3 separate regions of the Homo sapiens genome follow, and all the other regions are linked to region 3. Evidence: promoter capture Hi-C in 16 types of primary human blood cells and fetal thymus (Javierre and others, 2016). All regions are on one chromosome and are shown on one strand. Each heading gives the region's core, a stretch centred on a gene start or on the middle of the fragment in contact. The rest is flanking DNA. Distances are from core to core; before and after follow the strand shown. Region 1 holds the start of KRTAP21-3 (keratin associated protein 21-3). Region 2 holds the start of KRTAP20-1 (keratin associated protein 20-1). Region 3 holds the start of KRTAP23-1 (keratin associated protein 23-1).

Region 1 (3,160 bases), core at 642-3,141, 370 kb after region 3:
AAGCATGAGACCAAAAAAAAAAAAAAAAAAGGAAAGAATAATAAAATCAGATGACTTAATTTGGAGGCTGCTACCTCTCAAAAGTTAGCATAGATGAAGCATTACATTGTTTGCTGCAAAACAACATACATAAGGAGTCATTTGCCAACAAAAACAAAATCCTATTATTACGTATCATGCTACATGCTAAGTATACTATCTCATTAACTATGGCAACAGTCCTCTGACATCAGTGTTTATAACCTTTTTGTTTGAATGGAAGAGGAGACTTATGAAATATGAAGATTAAGAAGTTTTCTGACACATGCACAGCTAGGAATGGGAACATTGGCATCTAATGTCACTCTCTGTTGCCCCAAAGCCTGTGCTTTTTAAGAAAGAGAAATGTTGTGACTACACTTTGCCATAGAGGAGAATTGTTTGATATCCCCATATAAATAGTCCTAGACTCACTTTATCATACATAGCAGTCTCATAGAGCAATTCCTTCGCCACCACAGGAATGGAGTCAGGAATTTTTTTTTTTTTTAGATGAGTCTCACTCTGTCACCGGGCTTTCTTAAATAATTTTATAATTATGTAACAAATATAACTGAAGAAAAAAACAACTGATTTTTGACTTTGATTTTGAGAGAGAGAAAGATATGAGGAGAAGTAGAAGGAGGAGGAGAAGGGAGAAGAGGAGGAAGAGGAGAAGTAGATGCAAGGTGATGAACAGGGAAATAGTGTAAGAATGTCATTTCTATTTCAAGTGGAATGTTAGGCAAAGTCTCCTAAGGAGTTCATATTAACCAGAATCCCAAAAAAAGTGACAGAACTGTCTATGAGAATGTTTGAGAAAAGGCCGACGGAATTAGAATTAGAATCATTGTGTTCGTGTGTGTGTGTGTGTGTGTGTGTGTGTAGCCAAGGCGGGTGGATTATAAGGTCAGGAGTTCGAGACCAGCCTGGCCAACATGGTGAAACCCCGTCTCTACTAAAAATACAAAAATTAGCCAGGCGCGGTGGCGGGTGCCTCAATCCCAGCTACTTGGGAGGCTGAAGCAGGAGAATCACTTGAACCTGGGAGGCGGAGGTTGCAGTGAGCCAAGATCGCGCCACTGCACTCCAGCCTGGGTGACAGAGCGAGACTCCATCTCGAAAAAAAAAAAAAATGTTTCAGTGATTCTCTCTCCTCCTCCCTTTTCTTTGGCTGATAATAATCTACTATTCTACACTAAGGATGATATCATTCCACTTCCTTTCTTCATTTTGTATATTTAGAAGTATATCTAATTAACAGGTACATATTTATTTAATATTAAATATGTGGTGGATACTGACAATTAAATAACTCAAGTTTTATGTAGAGTAGAAAAGATAAAGAGAAAAAGAGTTATTGAAAGTTAAGAAGAAATTTCTAAGAAGCTAAGGATCAACTAATCTACATAGTGGTCTGGCTTTCAAGGGGGTAAAACATGCCCCAAATTGGTGTTGACTCACACACGCACACAAAGAGCATTTTATATTTTTCAAAATTTCAAAATAGTCATATTTTCCATCTCTCAGTGAAACCACATTATGTCTATGACTAACAGGTACTTTGAAGACAAATGGAGTTTTCACCAGATGAGTCATTTTTCTCTAACGGAGAACTATCAGGATTGAAGGTGATTAAAGCAGAACAGATCTTTGAGAAACTAAATAAGAAACAATGCTCAATGGCATTTCTTAGAAGCAAAAAATATCAGATCATCTATAACAGAATATTTATTTTCATAACAACCATAATAACCGTTACAGCCACAGTGGGTGCTGTGTATACAGCCATACCCACAACCATAGCAAGAGCCAAATCCACAGCTCCCACACACACTTTTGTAATTGAAATACATAGTGTCAGGAGATGAGAATTCAGCCAGGTAACAGCATTTCTGGAGTTTGGAACCCTTGGGATCTTTCTATATAATAAGAGGTCTGCAAAGTGTGTGCCATCCCTACTTTGCCTTCTCATTCCCACAAGAATTTATATTTAACAAGCTTGTTGTTGTTTTATTCTGTGTCCTAAGAAAGCCTCTCATTTTAGACCTTCATTTAATTCCTGCAAGTTAATCATAGACTGTAAAAAGTAATTTGTACACTCTGTATACATGTTCTCAGTGAGCCCCAAATGTACACTCCACAAATATCATGATGCTAAATCTTGCAGGGAAGTACTTCCCTCAGCTCTAACCCAAAACATTGAGAATCCCCATCCCCAGCCTCCTAGAGAAAGGAAGGGGCTTAGTGATTCCTACCTTTTCAGGTGCCACCAGTATTACCATCCAATCCACAACTGTACTACTCAGGAGAGGATAGGCATAGGAAGGCTAAATTGAGAAACATGCGTTCAATTCTATAATATTAGAATTTATTGAGAACTTTCCTAAAAAACAGAACATGACAGTAGGCACTGCTGAAAATAACATAAAAATAAAAATGAAAAACATAAATAAGACCAAGAACAGACCTTCAATGAACTCCCAGCTTAGTAAGGAAGAGAAACATTTACACAAAAAAAGTCTCAGATTGATGCGGTTAGAGAAAAAGGAAAGAGAAATCCTATGAAATAGACCTCAAAACAATCCAGACCAGGTCCACTTAGGGCCTTCATCCATGCTGGGCTTTCACCTGCAGTTTTTACAATTTAACACCCATATCTATGACTCATTCCCTCATTGCCATCAGAGTGTGTTCAAATGTCACTCAAGGAGGCCCTCCCTGAACAGTATTATTTATAGCTAGCACCCTCCCACAGATATATCTTTATTCTCTACTTAGCATTTATCAAGCCATTTATCACCATATGATAGACTTGCATTTTACTAATTTTGTTGACTGTTTTTCTCACTGGAATATAGGATATCTGTGAAGGCAGGAATTTCTTTTTTTCTTTAGGGAATAAAATAGATTTTAAAAAAGTATAATAAACTGGGGCCAAATAATAAAGAGCTTTGAATATTAAGGTAAAAAGTGTGGAATTCATTCTAAAGGTAATGGAGAACCAGAGAAGATTTTGAGCAAATTAATGGCATAATCAGCTCAATATTTTGAGATACAGAAATCACAACCATTTATCCAGTGTACTTAGTAATGTCCTATTTCTTCGAAACCATTATTTGCTAAATTATTCTCTTGAGCA
Region 2 (3,024 bases), core at 513-3,012, 270 kb after region 3:
TATATTTGTGTTCTGGCTCAAAAGTAAGTATAGGTATTTTCATATTTAAAACAATAATACTGGCAGAAGTATCTTTTCATGCAACCTACTATATTTCCACCATCAAACAAGAAGTCTTTGGCAAAATATGAGACTATGAGGAACATGTTACTATAGCCTAATCTTTTTTCAAAGCAGTGAAGATCAGAGCTAAATTGAATGATTAAGTCAAGTAGCCCTCTGGACTTATATTCTTAGTAAGATGACTTTATAAGAGTGAGTTGAATATAGTAAATAAGAGTAAAATATCTGTAATGTGCTTTCTAGGCTCAAATTTTACCTCTACTATCCATAGCTGTCTGACCACTGTTAACTACATGCTTCAGCTGCCCTATCTGCAAATGGGATTGTAATAATGATACCTACCCCACAAGGAAATTTAGAAAATCAAATCTTTTGATACATACCAGACACTTTGAATAGTGTTTGGTTCATAGTAGGAACCAGAATACTAGAATAAATTTTGCTGTCTTTACTTATTTCATCCCATCCCTGTTTTTCTGGATAGAAGCTTCAGTAGAGAGTTGATCAATTGAATAAGAGAACTCAGGCATGCTTAAGTTCTCATTTAGGGGCATTATGTCCTTGAAGCTGAAGGGAAGAGAAACTCTGCATTGAGGATGTACATCTAACAACAGAGAAAGTCACATCCTGGTTTTACTGAGAAGGGGAAAGTCCTACCAAGTTCCCCAACACACATAGCACAAGCAGGGGGAGATACAATGATTGGTTCTCACCCAGGTGGATCTGAGTGGAGACTCATTGATTTCCTTACTACAACCAAAGACTGTTCTGGCTGTAGAGACCCAAGGATGTAACACTTCATGCTAGGTAATGGATTGAACAGAGTTTTATTTTTGTGGCAGTGGAAAATGGCAATATGTGTTATGCCATCCAAAGGTGTCAGTGCAGAACAGGTATGGTCCTCCTCAAAACCAACAGCATATCACTGCACATCGAAGCACACCTCAGGCAGAGAATGAGGAGTGGTAATGTCTTTATTGCAATTGTATTTTAATACTGACAACCAGAAAGTGATTGAATTTTGTTGAGTTTACCTGAAAGGGACAAGAATAAATGTTTTGCCATTTAGTGGAAATAATGAATCAAGATAGAATTTGGTATAACAGTAAAATAAAGTGCATTTGTACGTTTGTAAAGTTGTATCCTGTAAAAATGTTACCTGACTTATGTATTTAAAGTGAAATAAACTGTTCTATCTCTGAAGAAATATTGGGCAATATTACAGATCTCATACTCGAAAGACTTGCCCCTTAGGCACATCTGTCTCCCCAAAGCCATGCAGACAGACTTCTTCAACTGCAACTGGTAGATGAATGTAAAGGAATTAACAAGCCAAAACCAATTTGAATCAGATGAGATTTGCATAGTTTCTGTTATTTCATAGAATCTCATCATGAAATTTTAGTATGTGCTCTCAGGAAAAAAGGATGTTAAAACCAGGTTAAAAAAAATCTGTCATTCAAATCACATTCTTTGATTGTGAAAATCTTGACACAACACTAGAGGAATCCTAGCTATGAAGGCTTCACTATGCCTAATGAAATAAGAGATTTATGAGAGTGTTGCCTTGGCGGTGTTAGCGGTCAACCCAAAATAATTCATAATAAGAGCAACATTGCCTGTGATTTGCCACACCTACTACTGAGGAAGTATAAAAGACCTGTGAAGATGGAGATGTTCAAATTCAAGAACATCCTCTTCTACACCTGAACCATCCATTTCTGACACCATGATTTACTACAGCAACTATTATGGTGGCTATGGGTATGGTGGGCTTGGCTGTGGCTATGGCTGTGGTTATCGTGGCTATGGATGTGGTTATGGTGGCTATGGAGGCTATGGAAATGGCTACTACTGCCCATCTTGCTATGGAAGATATTGGTCATATGGTTTCTACTGAACAATTCTAGAGCTCACCAGATTTGTCTGCTTGTGAAACCTGGATTCTCATGCTGCTCTTGTTCATCTGATCCTGTGTCTTCAAAACAGCAGAAACCTAAACTAGGCTATTATCAAAGAACTACAGATGCTGTCTTTCTCTGGTTCTGTTGTGCAAGATGATAAAGAATAGGTTTTAAAATGCAATTCTTTGATTCTTAAGTCCTTTAAATAAATTTAGTCTGTTTGCAAATATAGTGTGTTTTCATGTTTATTATTTTCATTGTCAACTTTGCATGTGGATGATGGTAAGATGGAAACCTGTGGATAATTACTATCCCAAGGGGTTGACACTACATCTTATTTCATTTTCCTATTTTTTGTCCTTCTGTATATTTCTCACACTATTTAAAACTGAGCTTCTGTAGGGACACAGTTGATTGCTTTCTCTTCAAATAATTTCTACTTGAGCTTGACAAGCTACACACCTAAGGCTGGTGGCTGCATGCTGCTGACTGTCCTTGTTTCTCCAGAGCACATAGAAACACATACACATTTTAAGTTGTGGCTTCCATGAGTTTTCCAAGTTGTCTGCCTTCTGGTAGCTTCATCACTATGAAGCCTCTCAGTTGCCTGATGTTGTTGATATAGATCCTGTATACAGGAAGTGCTGTGCCATGTCTGGGAACCTGGATGTCTTTATAGGAAATCTCTTTATGATAGGCGATTTTGATAATGAAGTTCATTTCATATTTCATTGCATTCATGCAACAGCTCCTAAAGTATTCTAGGCATGCTGCTATATTGGGAGAGAGCATCTTTTCATGAATATTCAAGATTATTTCTGTTGTAATATTACTAAATTTTATCTAGTTGTATACTTTATAAAACTGGTATTTGTGTACTATTAGAATATTCTAATTGGGTTTTACATTTTTTCCAAACGGAAGAGTTTTAGTGAATTTTTACCACATGGTATGAAAATCAAACTTCTCAATTAATCTGTAAAAATAAACTATTGACATTAAGGAAACTATATTAGGGAAATTTAAAAAACAAGTTATACAACTAGATAATGGGATT
Region 3 (2,975 bases), core at 260-2,759:
AATGTAAGAATATAATGGACTGTCTAGTTTTGCATCCAGATACAAGCCCAGGATATCAAGAGGTAAAGTCTTATCTCTCAGTCCGTGTCACCTATGCATGATACTGCCAGGTTTCAGACAGTTTTCAGGTGACTTCTATTATAACACCGGATGGCTTTATAGTGACCTAATGAAAGGAGGAGGGAGTGAACCATCAAATTAAAAAAAAAAAAACTCTTAGATATTATATTCTTCTTATTATAGTGGAATGCATACATCTTTAATTTCATGTATACCTAAACTATTTGTTTCATTACACTTGCTACTGAACTCAGTTAAAATCCTGACCTCAGAATTTCATTGTGGCTTATATATGTCTGGGAAGGAAGATTACAGGAAGGATTTTGATAATGTTCTCATAAAAACAGCCAGGCTAGTACTTGCTAAAACATCACTGCTGTCTCTGGATATTTTCTTCCTAGACTAGACCCATGAGTAGCTTAACCAAAGTGAAGTGTCCTGATTAGGCCTAAATGGCCATGAATAGAAAAACAGAGATAATCTCCTGTCCTATCTCTGAGTCTACTTGGCAGAAATTCCCAGGAACTAGATCTCTGTTGTTAGAAAACTCTGCCTATCAAGGAACCTACTCCTTTCCCTCAAAGTGAATATTTTATTTTTAGACAAAAAGTGGGGGTTTCAAATTCCCGACAGACATCTTATAAAGAAAATTAACACAAGATTTGTGATCTGATATCAGATTAAATGAGTTTATTTGAAGAAAAAGAAATCAACTCTTGCTCCATTTTTAACTAGAGAAGGAAGGGAAAATACAAGAAAACAGAAGAAAAAGAGATGAGTATTCTATGAGAAATGTTATTTTAATATTAATAAGTTTAAAACAATTATCTTTTCTGGATAGTAGAATATAGGTTCTAGCCAGATGATAGCTGAGATGGACTTTGAGAGAAATAATTGTAATGTGGAGGTTTGGAGCCCTTAGCAAGTTGATCGGTAGAAGCCAGATCCACAAGTTGGTCTGTAACAGGAAGACTGGAATGTCCTAAAGAGAACATATGTTGGGTGGCAGAATCCAGATCCATAGCCCAGGGAAGGGAAGCCACAGCCTCCATAACCCAGGGATCTGACGCCACTGGACCCACGGCCCACTGAGTAGCAGCTCCTAGATCCATAGCCCAGGGAGCGGCAGCTGCTGGATCCAAAGCCTAGAGACTCAGAGTAAGTCGACTGGCAGGGACTGCAGAGCACGGAGCTTCTGGGGCGGTAGCAGGAGGTCTGGCAGGGGCTGGACTCCACACAGGACATCTGGCAGCTAGGGGTTTCCCAGCAAGTCTCCTGAAAGCCCTTGCAGAGAGAGGAACCCAGCTGGCAGGTGCTGGGAGATCAAAGGTTCAGTGCTGTAGACCAGGTTGCTGGGGTACGAGGAGCCACCACGGGAGTAGCCTGAGTAGCACAGGTAGCCCTCACAGGAATGGGAGGAGAAGTTTCCACAGCAGCAGTTGTAGGACATGTTGACAGGAGATGTGAGTTCAGCTGAGCTGCATTGAGAAGATGCCCTGATGTCCCTGCCTGTGCCCAATGATCCAGTGATGTTTACACCCTCACACTGCTGGGCGTGATGCAGTATCCGGGAACCCCCCCATTCTTGTGAATGTGTTTTCATCAAATGACTAAGTAACCTAGGTTATAATTATAACTCAACACATTCATTTGTCTTTAACAGCAGTGTAATCATTCCAGTTTATAGAAGCCCATTGGCTTCTCTCTCTCTCTCTCTCTGTCTCTTTCTCTCTCTCTCTCTCTCTCTCTCTCTCTGCAGAAATAAGGTTTGGTTTGCTTTCAGAAACATTGGTGATGATACATACAGTGCCTCCCCACCCCTTTTACTGAGCTTGACTGTGGGTATTCTGAGCTTCAGCCTACAAATTCTTACCAGCAATGTACTCCCAACAGTAATCAGCAGCCACCCACCCCCCATTATTTACATATGTTTTATTAAGCATTAACTACATGCGCAACATTTAAAAGTGTGGTATGATTTAATCTTTGCAAATATCTTATGAGATACAAGTTGTCATAAACAATTTAGAAGTAAGGCCATGGAGGTTTGGAAAAGTTATGTAACATTCAGGTAATAAATCAAACAAATCATGGACCCCATGTCATCCCAGGTGTGTCTGTCTTTAAGGCTAGCACAAACCACAGAGCTATATAGACAATTTGTGAAGCTTGTAATTTCTGCTCCCAGAATCACATGGACAATTGAGTATGCAGGTGAAAAAAAAATTCCAAGGTGTTAATATTTGCATTTCATCTGATATATCTACTTGAGTATTCTTACCCCTTTTATGAATTCCCCAAATATAGCCAACTGAGGGGACAGCTTCTTAATTGATTTTGGTTATTTTTTTAGTATTCAGAGTTACTATGGAGATGCTTTGTTACAAATTATCTTCTATTTGCCCTCTCACTCAGTTTATCCTAGTTAAGCAACTCATGTTTTATCCACCATGGAGTTATTAGATTCTTTTTCAGTGTGAGGCAGAAAATTCTTTGGCAAACACAGACTTTCACTGGGACTAGTTGCGAAAAACTGATATGCCTTTAGTGAGTTGACTACCAATAAAATACATTTGCAGAAGCTTGAATTTTAATAGGGTGCCGACCTTTTGCCAACTCAGTTGGGAGTGAGAAATACGACACCTTCCAGAGTGATTCATTTCACTCCTTGCTGAGCTTCTCTTGTTCATCCTTCTAGGAAGACAAAGCAGCATAAAATTTACCATTATATTAAGTGGTTAAAATTATCTTTACCACTATAAAACATCAGTGGTATAAAGAAAAATCTTGGAATTAGAAATGTCTTTTTCCCCACTTGTTATCATATCCAACTTCTGCCTTCAAGCATCTTTTAGAAATTGGAAAGCAAAAAGCTATTTATGTAATTTGATCTTTTCAAACTGTTTCATAGATGA

What was found. The method cuts DNA at HindIII sites, captures the fragments that hold promoters and counts their contacts. A CHiCAGO score of 5 or more calls a contact.
Region 1: a contact is called between the fragment with the promoter of KRTAP21-3 here and the fragment with the promoter of KRTAP23-1 in region 3, in 3 of 17 cell types (erythroblasts, endothelial precursors and naive B cells). The highest score is 7.9, in erythroblasts.
Region 2: the fragment with the promoter of KRTAP20-1 here is called in contact with the fragment with the promoter of KRTAP23-1 in region 3 in 5 of 17 cell types (naive CD8 T cells, M1 macrophages, M2 macrophages and 2 more); the score reaches 6.5 in naive CD8 T cells.

What each region holds. Positions count from the first base shown.
Region 1 is chr21:30,716,886-30,720,045 of GRCh38, forward strand. It overlaps KRTAP21-3 (keratin associated protein 21-3), which reads right to left and starts at 1,892. Exons shown (of 1, transcript NM_001164435.1): 1 at 1,640-1,892. The coding sequence starts at 1,874. The coding sequence ends at 1,698. The region is part of intron 2 of LOC105372773 (a long non-coding RNA gene); the gene reads right to left. The HindIII fragment of the contact is 10,011 bases long and covers 1-2,017 here.
Region 2 is chr21:30,614,663-30,617,686 of GRCh38, forward strand. It overlaps KRTAP20-1 (keratin associated protein 20-1), which reads left to right and starts at 1,763. Exons shown (of 1, transcript NM_181615.2): 1 at 1,763-2,037. The coding sequence starts at 1,793. The coding sequence ends at 1,963. The HindIII fragment of the contact is 4,063 bases long and covers 549-3,024 here.
Region 3 is chr21:30,347,097-30,350,071 of GRCh38, forward strand. It overlaps KRTAP23-1 (keratin associated protein 23-1), which reads right to left and starts at 1,510. Exons shown (of 1, transcript NM_181624.1): 1 at 1,303-1,510. The coding sequence starts at 1,510. The coding sequence ends at 1,313. The HindIII fragment of the contact is 4,066 bases long and covers 1-2,226 here.